3 separate regions of the Homo sapiens genome follow, and regions 2 and 3 are each linked to region 1. The links are contacts of gene promoters, found by promoter capture Hi-C in blood cells and fetal thymus (Javierre and others, 2016). All regions are on one chromosome and are shown on one strand. Each heading gives the region's core, a stretch centred on a gene start or on the middle of the fragment in contact. The rest is flanking DNA. Distances are from core to core; before and after follow the strand shown. Region 1 holds the start of TSC22D3 (TSC22 domain family member 3). Region 2 overlaps MORC4 (MORC family CW-type zinc finger 4). Region 3 overlaps TBC1D8B (TBC1 domain family member 8B).

Evidence for each region. The method cuts DNA at HindIII sites, captures the fragments that hold promoters and counts their contacts. A CHiCAGO score of 5 or more calls a contact.
Region 2: a contact is called between a fragment that was not itself captured here and the fragment with the promoter of TSC22D3 in region 1, in 1 of 17 cell types (total B cells). The highest score is 5.5, in total B cells.
Region 3: a contact is called between a fragment that was not itself captured here and the fragment with the promoter of TSC22D3 in region 1, in 1 of 17 cell types (monocytes). The highest score is 6.8, in monocytes.

Annotation. Positions count from the first base shown.
Region 1 is chrX:107,773,501-107,777,067 of GRCh38, forward strand. TSC22D3 (TSC22 domain family member 3) reads right to left here and starts at 2,287. Exons shown (of 3, transcript NM_198057.3): 1 at 1,600-2,287. The coding sequence starts at 1,919. RefSeq lists enhancers at 1,056-1,633, 1,634-2,210, 2,487-2,536 and silencers at 2,299-2,593, 2,567-2,626. The HindIII fragment of the contact is 8,217 bases long and covers 868-3,567 here.
Region 2 is chrX:106,985,047-106,988,903 of GRCh38, forward strand. MORC4 (MORC family CW-type zinc finger 4) reads right to left here. Exons shown (of 17, transcript NM_024657.5): 4 at 937-1,154; 5 at 50-197. Among named protein-coding and RNA genes, the nearest start is that of MORC4, 13 kb to the right of the region's middle. The HindIII fragment of the contact is 2,445 bases long and covers 752-3,196 here.
Region 3 is chrX:106,872,957-106,876,557 of GRCh38, forward strand. It overlaps TBC1D8B (TBC1 domain family member 8B), which reads left to right. Exons shown (of 21, transcript NM_017752.3): 21 at 614-3,194. The coding sequence ends at 1,009. Among named protein-coding and RNA genes, the nearest start is that of RIPPLY1, 29 kb to the right of the region's middle. The HindIII fragment of the contact is 1,911 bases long and covers 507-2,417 here.

The DNA of each region.
Region 1 (3,567 bases), core at 1,037-3,536:
CTGTGGGCTGAATACACTTGTAGTAATCTTTCACTAGAAATGAAGATTCCCTCGAAACCTTTCTGCCCGCAGCCTGGTTTATTTTATTTTATTATTTTTAAAAATTCAGCCTGGTTTATTTTAGACAATGAGATAATTTGATGCCTAAAGTGAAATAATAGATGAGAAAGGGCTTCAATGGTGTCGAAAATGCCCGAGGAATACGACTTGTTATAATAACACTAACGAGGTTAGCGGCCCTGCTTGTCTTGCCCAGAATCACTGGGGCTGGGCTGAGCGGGAGGCGATGGTGGATTTGTCTTGGGGCAAGGGAGGCAAACCTGCTCTTAGCATTAAGTGAGAATAGCGCCTGCCTTTCTCGATTGCTTTTAAAATTTCCTATTTGAGCCTGCTTGCATTCTAAATATTTTGTAGGTGCTCAGAATTTCTTATCACTTTGTCTGGGCACATCGCCTGCCTACAGCCTAGAATCTCAGAGCTAAAAGGAACCTTGGAGAGACTAGAGAGGTCAGGCGACTTGCTCAGGCTCATACAAACAGGTGAAGCCATAACTTGTACTACAACCCAGGTCTCCCACAGTGGCGATGTCTTTCTCTTACATAACCTGTGTTGTTGAGCAAGAATAAATCCTCGCTTATACACTCACACACACATGTTGGTGCCCTATCCTGATGGCGCTAAGGACACTAAATCCATGGCTGGGTTTCCTGATGTTGTCTGCCCTGCCTCTAAATTGCCTCAGTTGTTCCCAGAGACTGGTTCTTGCCAGAGTGTCTCAAACTGAAGGACAGCAGCTGCCTTGGGTCTTCCCATTGTGTTTTTTCCCTCCCTTGTCCTCTCCTTGCCTCCCCAGCAGGATTTCTAGAAAGCTTGACCGGTACACCAATACACGCCTGCAACGACATGGATTCATCCGCCCTCCTGCCACACATAGTTCTTGAGGCACTCAAGATGTCCTAGGGTGCTCTCTGGGGTTGCGCTTAGCTTACATTTGAAATTTAACGCTGTGATCCATGGAGGAGGCGAATCCCTCCCATCCAGAGGCTCAAGAAATTCTCACAAGTCTCTGATTTTTAAAAATTTTCCCCTCCCCATCTCCCTCTCCTACCACCAGCAGTTTAATTTGTCTTGACATTTTGCTTGCCCTCACTGTCAGTCAGGGGCACTCAGTAATTTTAAAGCCCTTGTAGTTTCAATCTGATTTTGCACATTTGAGATGGGCTTTTGAGAAGGGTAGAACTTGGAACTCAAGAAGACCCCATGGCAGAATCTCCAAAGGGGCTATGGAAATGTATGCATTTGAGGAGCGGGTACTTTCAGCTACCTCCAAACCATCTGGGGTCTGCCCACCTTCTAGGCCCCAGCGTCCCCATCAGAAAGCCTTTGCAGGCAGCTTTCAGAATAGGGCTTGCACCTGCCAGTCCTCCCCTCAGCTCCGCGGTACTCCAGGCAACCTCAAGGTCCAGTCACTGTAGCCTGAGTCAGACCTCCCCAGTACCCCTCCTGAACTTCCTAGTTGCCCCTTTTGCCAGAGATGAGGGTGCAGCAGAGGCTGGTGGGAGCAAGGACCGAGTTGCCGCCGTGTGCCGAGCCACCCACCTGTGGAAGAAGAGCAGGATGGAGAGCATGGTCTGGTCGATGTTGCGGTTGCAGATGCCCTCGTTGATCAGGTAGCAGGGGTCCCGCAGCACCGGCTCTAGCGAATCCTGCCGCATTATGCTGTTGAGCTTGTCGGTATTGAGGTTCTCAAAGACCAGCTTTTCCTGCAGCTGCCGAAAGTTGCTCACTGTAGGGCTGCCCGGGTTGTTGTTCTCCCCGCTGCTGCCTCGCTGGAGCCCACTCCGATGGGCCAGGTCCAGGCAGCAGTTGCAGCAGTCGAGGCCGACAGGTGAGCGGCAATCGAGCTTGGACTGGGCCATCTTCTCAGGCTCGGAGGTCGCCTGGCCTGCGAGGTCAGGGGCGGCTGGCAGGTGCGCGCCCACCGAGCTGGCCTGAGGGGACTCCAGGGTGCCTGGAAAAGACAAGCTGTGAGGAAAAGAGTTGGAAATTAGCGCCTAAAGCCAGCCACCTTCGGCTCGGCCCCCTTCTGGCTGTACTGCTCCGGGTGCGAATAGAAACAGCTGGACAAACAGCTCCGAGCGGATCCTTCGGGCTCACTTCCTCCTCTTCCTCCTTCTCCTCCCCCTCCTCTTGAGGCCGGGGGCCGCCCCCCTGAGGTGCCACACGCGGCCCCAGCGCAGTCCCAAGTTTCCCAAGTGTGAGCGGGGATTGGGGCGGACCTGTGGAGGCAGGAAGGGCGGGCAGCAGGGCAGAGGGAGAGCCAGGGCGCGCCCTTGCTCCCTCCCTCCTTTGCTCCCTCCCTCCCCGGTTTGCAGGCTCTCAGGCTCTCGGGCTCCCCTGGGCTGTGACGGCTGAGCGGTGGCAGGAGCTGAGAGCGAGTGAGCTAGTTAGCGGTCTGCACGCCCGGGAGTCAGCACTGGGATATGACAGCATGTAAATTACCCTAGAGGGGACGGCGGAGAACGGTCCTCCGCCACTTCTCCGGCTGGCGGGCGGGGGCCCCGAGCGGCTGGATCCTGTCCCTCCACCCCTCGCCCCACCCCGCCCGCACCCTTGTGCCCTGGCATCCACGCTGCCGCTCGCACCCTCGCCCGCGCTCCTGGGAGCCGGCCCGGCTCTCACTCTCTCGGCGAGCCGGACGCTTCGGTTCAGGCTCTTTCAGCGCTCATGGCGCATCCTCCGCCAGAAATACGCACGCAGCCCACCCGGGCTGCCGTGCCCCCTCAGTGGCCCGGTCTCGCGGGGCTCGAGCTCGGCGTGAGGGCAAATGTCTCTAGTCTCACCTCGAATGGGTCCCCCTACAGAAGAGACGACGCCCTCGAGAGCCCCAAGTGTTGTAGCCTTAAACTGCCGCCCTCCAAAGCCCCCCTTTTTCTGGGGGGGGGGCGTGCAAGGAGAGCGGTTGCCTCTGCAGAGAGTCAGAGAGTGCCAGGCACACATTAGGAGTACCCAATAAATGCCGTAAGCAAAACTCAGAGAAGCACGCTCAAACTCTCCTCAGTTTCTGTCTCTTTCTGCTTACTTAACGATATCGTCACCTCCTTTCCCCAGCTCGCTGTGTCCTCTCTTCCCTGAACCCCTCAGAGGCAGTCTCTGTCCCGGTTTCCCTCTGCCCCTTCGCCGTCTCTCCTCAGTCCTCCCCTTCCTTCTCTCTGCTCTTCTGCTTCCACTCATTCCACTATTTCCCTTATTTTTTCTCTTTTCTTTACCCATTTCCTCTACTTTCTCCCCCATTTCCATTCTTTTACCTTTCTTTCCTTATTTCTTTTCTCCTTTTCTCTATTTCCTCATTTCCCCTTTCTCCCCTTTCCTCTTTTCTCTCATTTTTCTCTCCCCTACCCCCGCCATTTCCCTTATTTTCCCCTCATTTCTTACTTCAGCACCCCCTCTTTTTCCTCACTTCACTTACCTTCTCCTATTTCTCCAAATTTGTTGTCCTTCTCCTTTTCTGAACCTTACCTGCCACCTTAGTTGATCTCCGTCTGTCGTTACCCTTTCAATAGATGT
Region 2 (3,857 bases), core at 724-3,223, 790 kb before region 1:
ATCATACTACCTTTGTTTATTAGAATCTATCACCCTTGGAATACTATACCTGCGGATGTTCCAAATGAGAACACGAGTGCCTTTTTTGCCTGGGATGGCATCAAACTGGGCCAGCAGGTCATTTTCACGGTTGAAAATGGAATAGTTCAAGATGGCTTCTAGGCTGGGCAATGAATCCTCGGTAATAATCATTTTTTGTAAAATCAAATATAGTCAAAGAAAAAATAATATCTTAGGATGCTATTGAGAAGGAAGATCTGCCCTTTGGATTGCATATTTAGACAAAACTATAGACATACAGCATGCATATTACTGCTATAGAAGGAGGAAAGGTGAAAAATGGAGAAAGGTTGTAGAGACAAGCTCCAAAATCAGTTGCCCATGCAGAATATAGCTTCAAAGATATCATGTAAACAAAGTCTTATATTTAAAAGATCAAAGGCTTAATTTTTTAACTTCTTTGGAAGCAATAAGTTAAAACCTTATTGCTATACTGTTCCAGTCAAGAGAACCAGGTGTCTAACAGAAGTAACAGCTGTGCAGATATAGGGAAATGAGCTATTCTGCTATTATATAAGCTGATAAATAGTATGTTTCTAGGCCTATTAATGCAAATGTAGCTATCCTTAGGGGAAAAAAAAAAAAAGGAAGGCCTTCGGAGCTTTACCATGGGGTGGTGGTAGAGCAGAGATACACTATATAGATCAAACTGCCTAACAATGAAAATTTCAATATAGCAAAAACATTTCTAAGCTTATGTCAATGTTCTACTTGTTTTTTAAATGTTTAATAGAGAAAAATCCCAGTTAAATTTAAGACATTTGAATACCTCTTTTAAAACTTCTGACAGTTGGATTTGACCTGAAGTTGGAATCTAATCAAACACTCAGATTAGACTAATTTTTAACCAACATTCTCCATTTCCAGAAAGGATATTGTTTTGCTGGTTGAATGGAACAATTGGTACAATAACTGCCTGGGCCTGGACACATTCCAGATAGGTCTGTGATAGAAGTCCAACAGTGAGAGTACCCCCATTCTTGGTGAAGACAAGGGCGTCCTTTCCTAGCCGCATGGAGCCTGACTTGAAACCATTACCAAAGACCCCAATGGGACACTGGCTCTTCTTTATTACTTTATCTGTAAAGCCAAAGCTGCAATTACACAAGAAAAAACAAATCAGAAAAAAAGAAATCAGAAAGGTAAAAAGCATCCTAAGATAGGTGACAGGCAGAATATTTGGCCTACAAATAAATAACACTTGTAAAAAGTCCTTCCTTTTTTATTCCTTTTGGTATTTATGGGCAAAACTATTAAGTTAAAAACATAGGAAATTACTATGGGGTAATGGGACTAATTTTCCTGTGTGGTTTGTGTATACATAAATAGTTCCATTACGTTAGAGTCACACTTTATAAATGTAAAAAAGGGCCCCTTTTCACCAGCTAACGTAGCTGGAGAAGGCCTTGGGCAGCTGCCTTTCTTGTCTAGATAAAACAGCTCTGATTGCTGTAGAAGTAAAGTTAGGGTAAGGTGAAAAATGTAGTTATCTAGAGAGGGTAGCAAAAGTTCCAGATATTGTCATTGGTCAGAGGTACTAGATTAGGCATCTCCTAACCTGTTTATATCATCCTCTAGAAATCTGAAAGTCAGGGATCATGTATCTTGACAATTTCAACTCTCCACTCAAAGGATAACCCTTCCAATTCTTAGTCTCTGTTCCATCTGCTGGGACAGTTCATTGGAATGTGGCCAAAGGATAAAAATAGGTAGTTCTGCCTCTGAATATCAGCAAACAGTTGCAGTATAAAGTCTCTCTTGCTCCATTAAGGACCTTTCACTTAGGCGCCTCAACAATCTCTGTAGCCCCTTTTGATCAGCTTAATCTGGAAGCCAGAACCTTTCCCTTCCTTGTATTTTCCATTCAGGTACACACCAAAATAACAGAACTTTAAAAATTAAAAATAAAATGATTATATATCTTCCCTCACCATCAATAAAACTAATTGTAAGGATTGTTTCTCAGGATGAGAAGGAGAAATGAATAGAGTTTGGCAAATGAGTACAAACTTATAGTTAGATAGAAGAAAAAAGTTCTAATGTTCCATAGCAGACCAGGGTGACTATAATTAGCAATAATACATCACATATTTCAAAGTAGCTAGAAAAGAGGAGTTCCAATGTTACCAACATATAAATTATCAAGGTGATGGAAACCCCAAACACCCTCACTTGATCATTACACATTGTATGCATGTATAAAGTACTCACATGTACCCCATAAATATGTAAAATATTAGGTATCAATAAAAGAAAAAATCATACTAAAAAGGATTGTTTCTCTCCAGATTGACTAATTTTACAATGTTGTGCACTATCATTCATTCAATAAATATTTAAACTAAGCACCTACAATGTGCCAAGCATTGGGCTAAGCACTAGAGACCATTTTTAATAAGAGACATGATTCTTGCCTTCAGAGTTTATAGTCTAAGGAAGGACTTCATATATTACAGATTAGGTGCTTCTCAACATCAATAAAATAGATACTCTGGTCAGACCATGACTGAGCAGGCTGATCTTTAACAATTTTACTCTTTTGAGCATGGAGAGCGGAGGTATCTGATTTCTACTTCCTGAAGATTGCGGTTTTGTGTTTACTCACTAAGAAAGGGAACCACCTTTTAATTTTCTGTTTCAAAGCATTATACAATAATACCATATGTCCTCCTAGAGTAGATACTTTATAGGAGCTGTGTGTATCCTACAAATAAATCTAGTGACAGAAAAAGGTAATTTCCATGGCAGCAGTCCTTTGGGAAAAAAAAAAAGAAAAAGAACTTCAGTTTGTGTTGCCTATGGGCCTTAGTATTCCAGGATACAGACTTATAATAGTAAGATTCAGGCATTCCCATTTTTCTTGTGGAAGAATTGGCTTTTAAAAAAAATGGGTTTGTTATGAGGATTAAATTATATACTGTATGCAAAATACATTAAGTATAAAGTAGTATTCAAACATTAATTTTAAACTAACTCTAGAAGTCATTCTGATAGTTGTCATGTGCTATCCCCTACTCCTACTTCAGACCTAAGGTCACATCTAAAGCTCAGGGCTCTTCATAAATAGTAATCTTACACATCACTTCAAATGAATTTGTATCGTTAACCGGACTTCAACTTTCTCTTATACCACAAAAGCTTCAATTAGGTGATCAAGGGAAAGTGGTGAAAATAGGGAGATTACAACTCCCTTAATTTTTTAGCCTCTTCCACCATCTATCACCTCTTTTCCCCTTTGAAAGTATAAACCCTCACTGTGTTAATTTGAGGAGACCAAATTATGATACAAGGTTGAGAAGATAAGTAGTAGTGCCAGGCCAGAACCAGAATGGAAAAGGATAAGAATAACGAGAAGAGAGGAGCTATAAACTCTGGATTTTTGTTGTTGTTACTGTGTTTCACTTAACTCTTCCCGTGTGCTCTTTTATTCCACCTAAGTTCTCATGTTCGGCATTCTATTTAAATGCAAACTGGCAGAATCAATGTCAGGTACCAATCAAATAACTACCTAACACAAAAGCCCTCACCACACATAATAATAGAATTGTAATAATGAATTTGATAGTTTGCTATAGCTCAGTAATAATTTTCCACAGAGATAACTTGGTTTAGGTGGTTTCTATTTGCTAAGTCAGTCCTGCTCTATCCTCTCGTGTGAGAGACAACACTGTTTACACATCAAGGTGGCTTGGATACCAGCACTTTTAGTGGAATCCAAAAATACAGCAGCTTGCTCTGGAGTATCTTAAAATGTCAAGAATCCAGAATCCAGAGAGGTAAATTTAAATTGGGACTCT
Region 3 (3,601 bases), core at 212-2,711, 900 kb before region 1:
AAGGCCTTGTCTAAGGAAAAAAAAATAGCACCTAACATTTAAGTAATGCTGGCAGGCAAACAGTCCAGGAATTAGTCTGGATAAAATGTACTATTAGGCAATAAGTGAGAGCACTTAAATGAAATTTTCTTCCATGGTTCATACTCATCTTTTTTTTTAAGATGGAGTTTCTCTCTTGTTGCCCAGGCTGGAGTGCAATGGCACGATCTCGGCTCACTGCAACCTCTGCCTCCATGGTTCAGGCGATTCTCCTGCCTCAGCCTCCCAAGTAGCTGGGATTACAGGTGCCTGCCACCACGCCCAGCTAATTTTTTGTATTTTTAGTAGAGGTTTCACCACGTTGGCCAGGCTGGTCTCGAACTCCTGACCCCAGATGATCCACCCGCCTCGGCCTCCCAAAGTGCTGGGATTACAGGCATGTGCCACCGCGCCTGGCCCATACTCACCTTTCTAGAACCAATATGTATTTTGGGGTTAATCACCAGTTCTTATAACTTCTAGGGTGAAGCTTCTATGGTACAAATCCTATATAGGAGACTATTCACTTCTAAGTTCTCTTTATATTTGCTAAGTCTAATATTCAAACGTGATATTTTCAACTTGTGTCTTCTAGTCTCAGTTTATTCAGTTTTCAAAGACCCTCTATAACTTATTTCATGAGGACCCTGAAGAAGAATCATTATATCAAGCCATTGCTGTTGTAACCAGCCTTTTACTCAGGATGGAAGAAGTTGGAAGGAAACTACATAGCCCTACATCATCAGCCAAAGGATTCTCTGGTACTGTCTGTGGTTCTGGAGGACCCAGTGAGGAAAAAACAGGGAGCCACTTGGAGAAAGATCCTTGTTCCTTTAGGGAGGAACCTCAGTGGTCATTTGCATTTGAACAGATTCTTGCATCGCTGTTGAATGAACCAGCATTGGTGAGGTTTTTTGAGAAACCCATAGATGTAAAAGCCAAGCTGGAAAATGCAAGAATTTCTCAGTTAAGGTCTAGAACCAAGATGTAAATCCCTAGGAATTGCCTATCATAGACAAGTTTACTAACATTCCTGTAGCTGTCAGTTTGATTCCTGTGAGTAGGGCTCAGGGATTTATCTTGTTACCAATGTGTCTGAAGGCCAAAATATATATCCAGAAGCACAATGCATCATTCCTTTGTTGTTGATAATGGGCTTTGTTAGCACTTTTTAAAACAAACAAACAAACAAAACAAAAAAGCAAACCACATTTGTTATCTCAAATTTTGATGATATTCTCAAATACAAATATACTTTTTTATATTTCACAATATATGCAATATCAGGGGAATATGCTAAATGTTACCACCAGAGGGCACAAGCATATCACTTTTAGTAAGGAAATTACTAGCTTGTGTTGCTATTTACATATGAATTACTGATTATTTTGAAAAGACGGTGTTATGCTTGGGTGTTAGTGAGGCTGATATGTCATGTCAATCGATAAACCCTACTTTCCAAATTATCTAAAAGATTACCATTTGGGGCCCTTGTTTTCAAGTTATCTAACTGAAATATTATTAATTTTTTTAAGTTAATCTCATTCAGTCTTCTAGTAATAAATGCTTTTTTAAGTACCTTCTACAGTCTTCCTACCTGAGGGGTTCAGAGGCTGCTGACTCACACTGCTAACTCTGTTACTGACAAAAGCAAATCAATAACTCTAAATTCTGGGCTGATATAAAGAAAAAAACAATATTGGATTTGGATTTAATCTGGGTAAAATCAGCCTTCTGAGAAGGGCTAAGAAACAGTTCAATTAACTGTATAGGTCTTTCATTAGACCGAGACATCACTAGAAATTCTGGGCACTGCTGTTTGTGGTATTTGTCTCAGAGTAGCTTATGACTGTTTTGGTTCTAGCTTTAGATTTTGGATTTTCACCAGTCATGTGTTAATTTACATTAGATAGTAAAGAATGGCTACACTAAGACTGAATTATCTTATTAGTCTGGCAAGCATATAAAGTATACTTGTATGTAATGATTGCCAAGGTAACAGAATTGCTGACATCTGTCTAAAAAGTTTTGACTATCCAATTTAGATGTGTAATTTCTATATACTTTATGCTGTTTATATTTCAGTCATTACACCAAGTCCATTTAGAGATAATGGGCTTTGTTAGCACTTTCAAAAAAAAAAAAAGCAAACCATACTTGTCCACTGTCCTGTGCTATTCCTACCAAGGACAATTTATTAATCAATTGACTTAGAAAATAGGGGGAGAAATCATTCATTGGAGCTTCTTTCTTTAGAAAAGACTTTGGTTATAAGCCTTTTGACTTTTCTAGATGTGAAACCATGAAAGGGCAGACCTCCTTCAGAGTGACTCAAGAGGTCTCCCTTTCTTGGAGGGAGTTGGTACAGTCAGCCTTTGGGAAGAATCCACTGTGAACAAAGCTTAACACATGGGGCTTCATCGCTCATAGAATATGTTATTTTCAAAGAAGTTCAAGAATTTTCAAGTTGAGCCTTTGAAAATCCCATAAATTGGTTTTAGCTAAACACTTACTAGTAGTGTCTTTAAATTATTTAATCAACCTTGTCTTTTCAAGGAAATTACCACTTAAAGAGATAGTTGGTAAATAAACATCTATGCCTTTTCTCAGAAATGATTTGCTGAACTATGTCCATATTTTACAGCTTAGATAATAGTTTATATGGAAACTATTATACATCTGCTATTGTGCAATGATTGTTAAATTATACTGAAGTAGCTCTAGAAAGACACATGTATACAAGGCACTATTGTACACACTTTGCTGAATATTTTGTCAGTTGTATTTACAAAGAAAGGTACTTTCTTAAGAGCATATATGTTATTAATATTTGATATGATTTTAAAGTCAGAATAGTACAGATTGCTGAGTATTATACTTTAGGCTAGATTAATTAAAATTGAATACTGAAAGAGATTTTTTGAGTTGCAAAAAGTTTATAAATGCAAAGCAAAAAGAAAACATTTATTTTCTGAGTCTGCAGGAGAAACAAACTAAACATTATAGTTTTATAGCTGCTATCTTGTTAACCAAACAGGTTGTTCATAATATTAAAAATCTTACGTAGTTGTGTTAAACTGAACCAGTTCATTATACCTTATGCATTAAATTAAATATGTTATAAGGTGGCTTTACTTGTCTTTATAAAAATAAATATATCTACTAAACATGAAAAATGGTTTACTTAAAAAGATTAGTATTATTTATTATGATGTCTTTTTTTCCTTTTTCTTTTCTTTTCTTTCTTTTTCTTTTTTTTTTTTTTCTTTATTGAGACAGGTCTCAATCTGTCACCCAGACAGACAGGTCTAATTCTGTCACCCAGATTGGAGTGCAGTACAGCCTTGATCTTCCAGGCTCATGCAATCCTCATGTCTCAGCCTCCCAAGTAGCTGAGACCACAGATACACACCACCATGCCTGGCTTATTTATTTATTTATTTATTTATTTATTCATTCATTCATTTATTTATTTATTGGTAGAGATGTGGTCTCCCTATGTAGCCCAGGCTGTTCTCAAATTCCTAGGCTCAAGCAATCCTACCGCCCCAGCCTCCCAAAATGTGGATTACAGGTGTGAGTC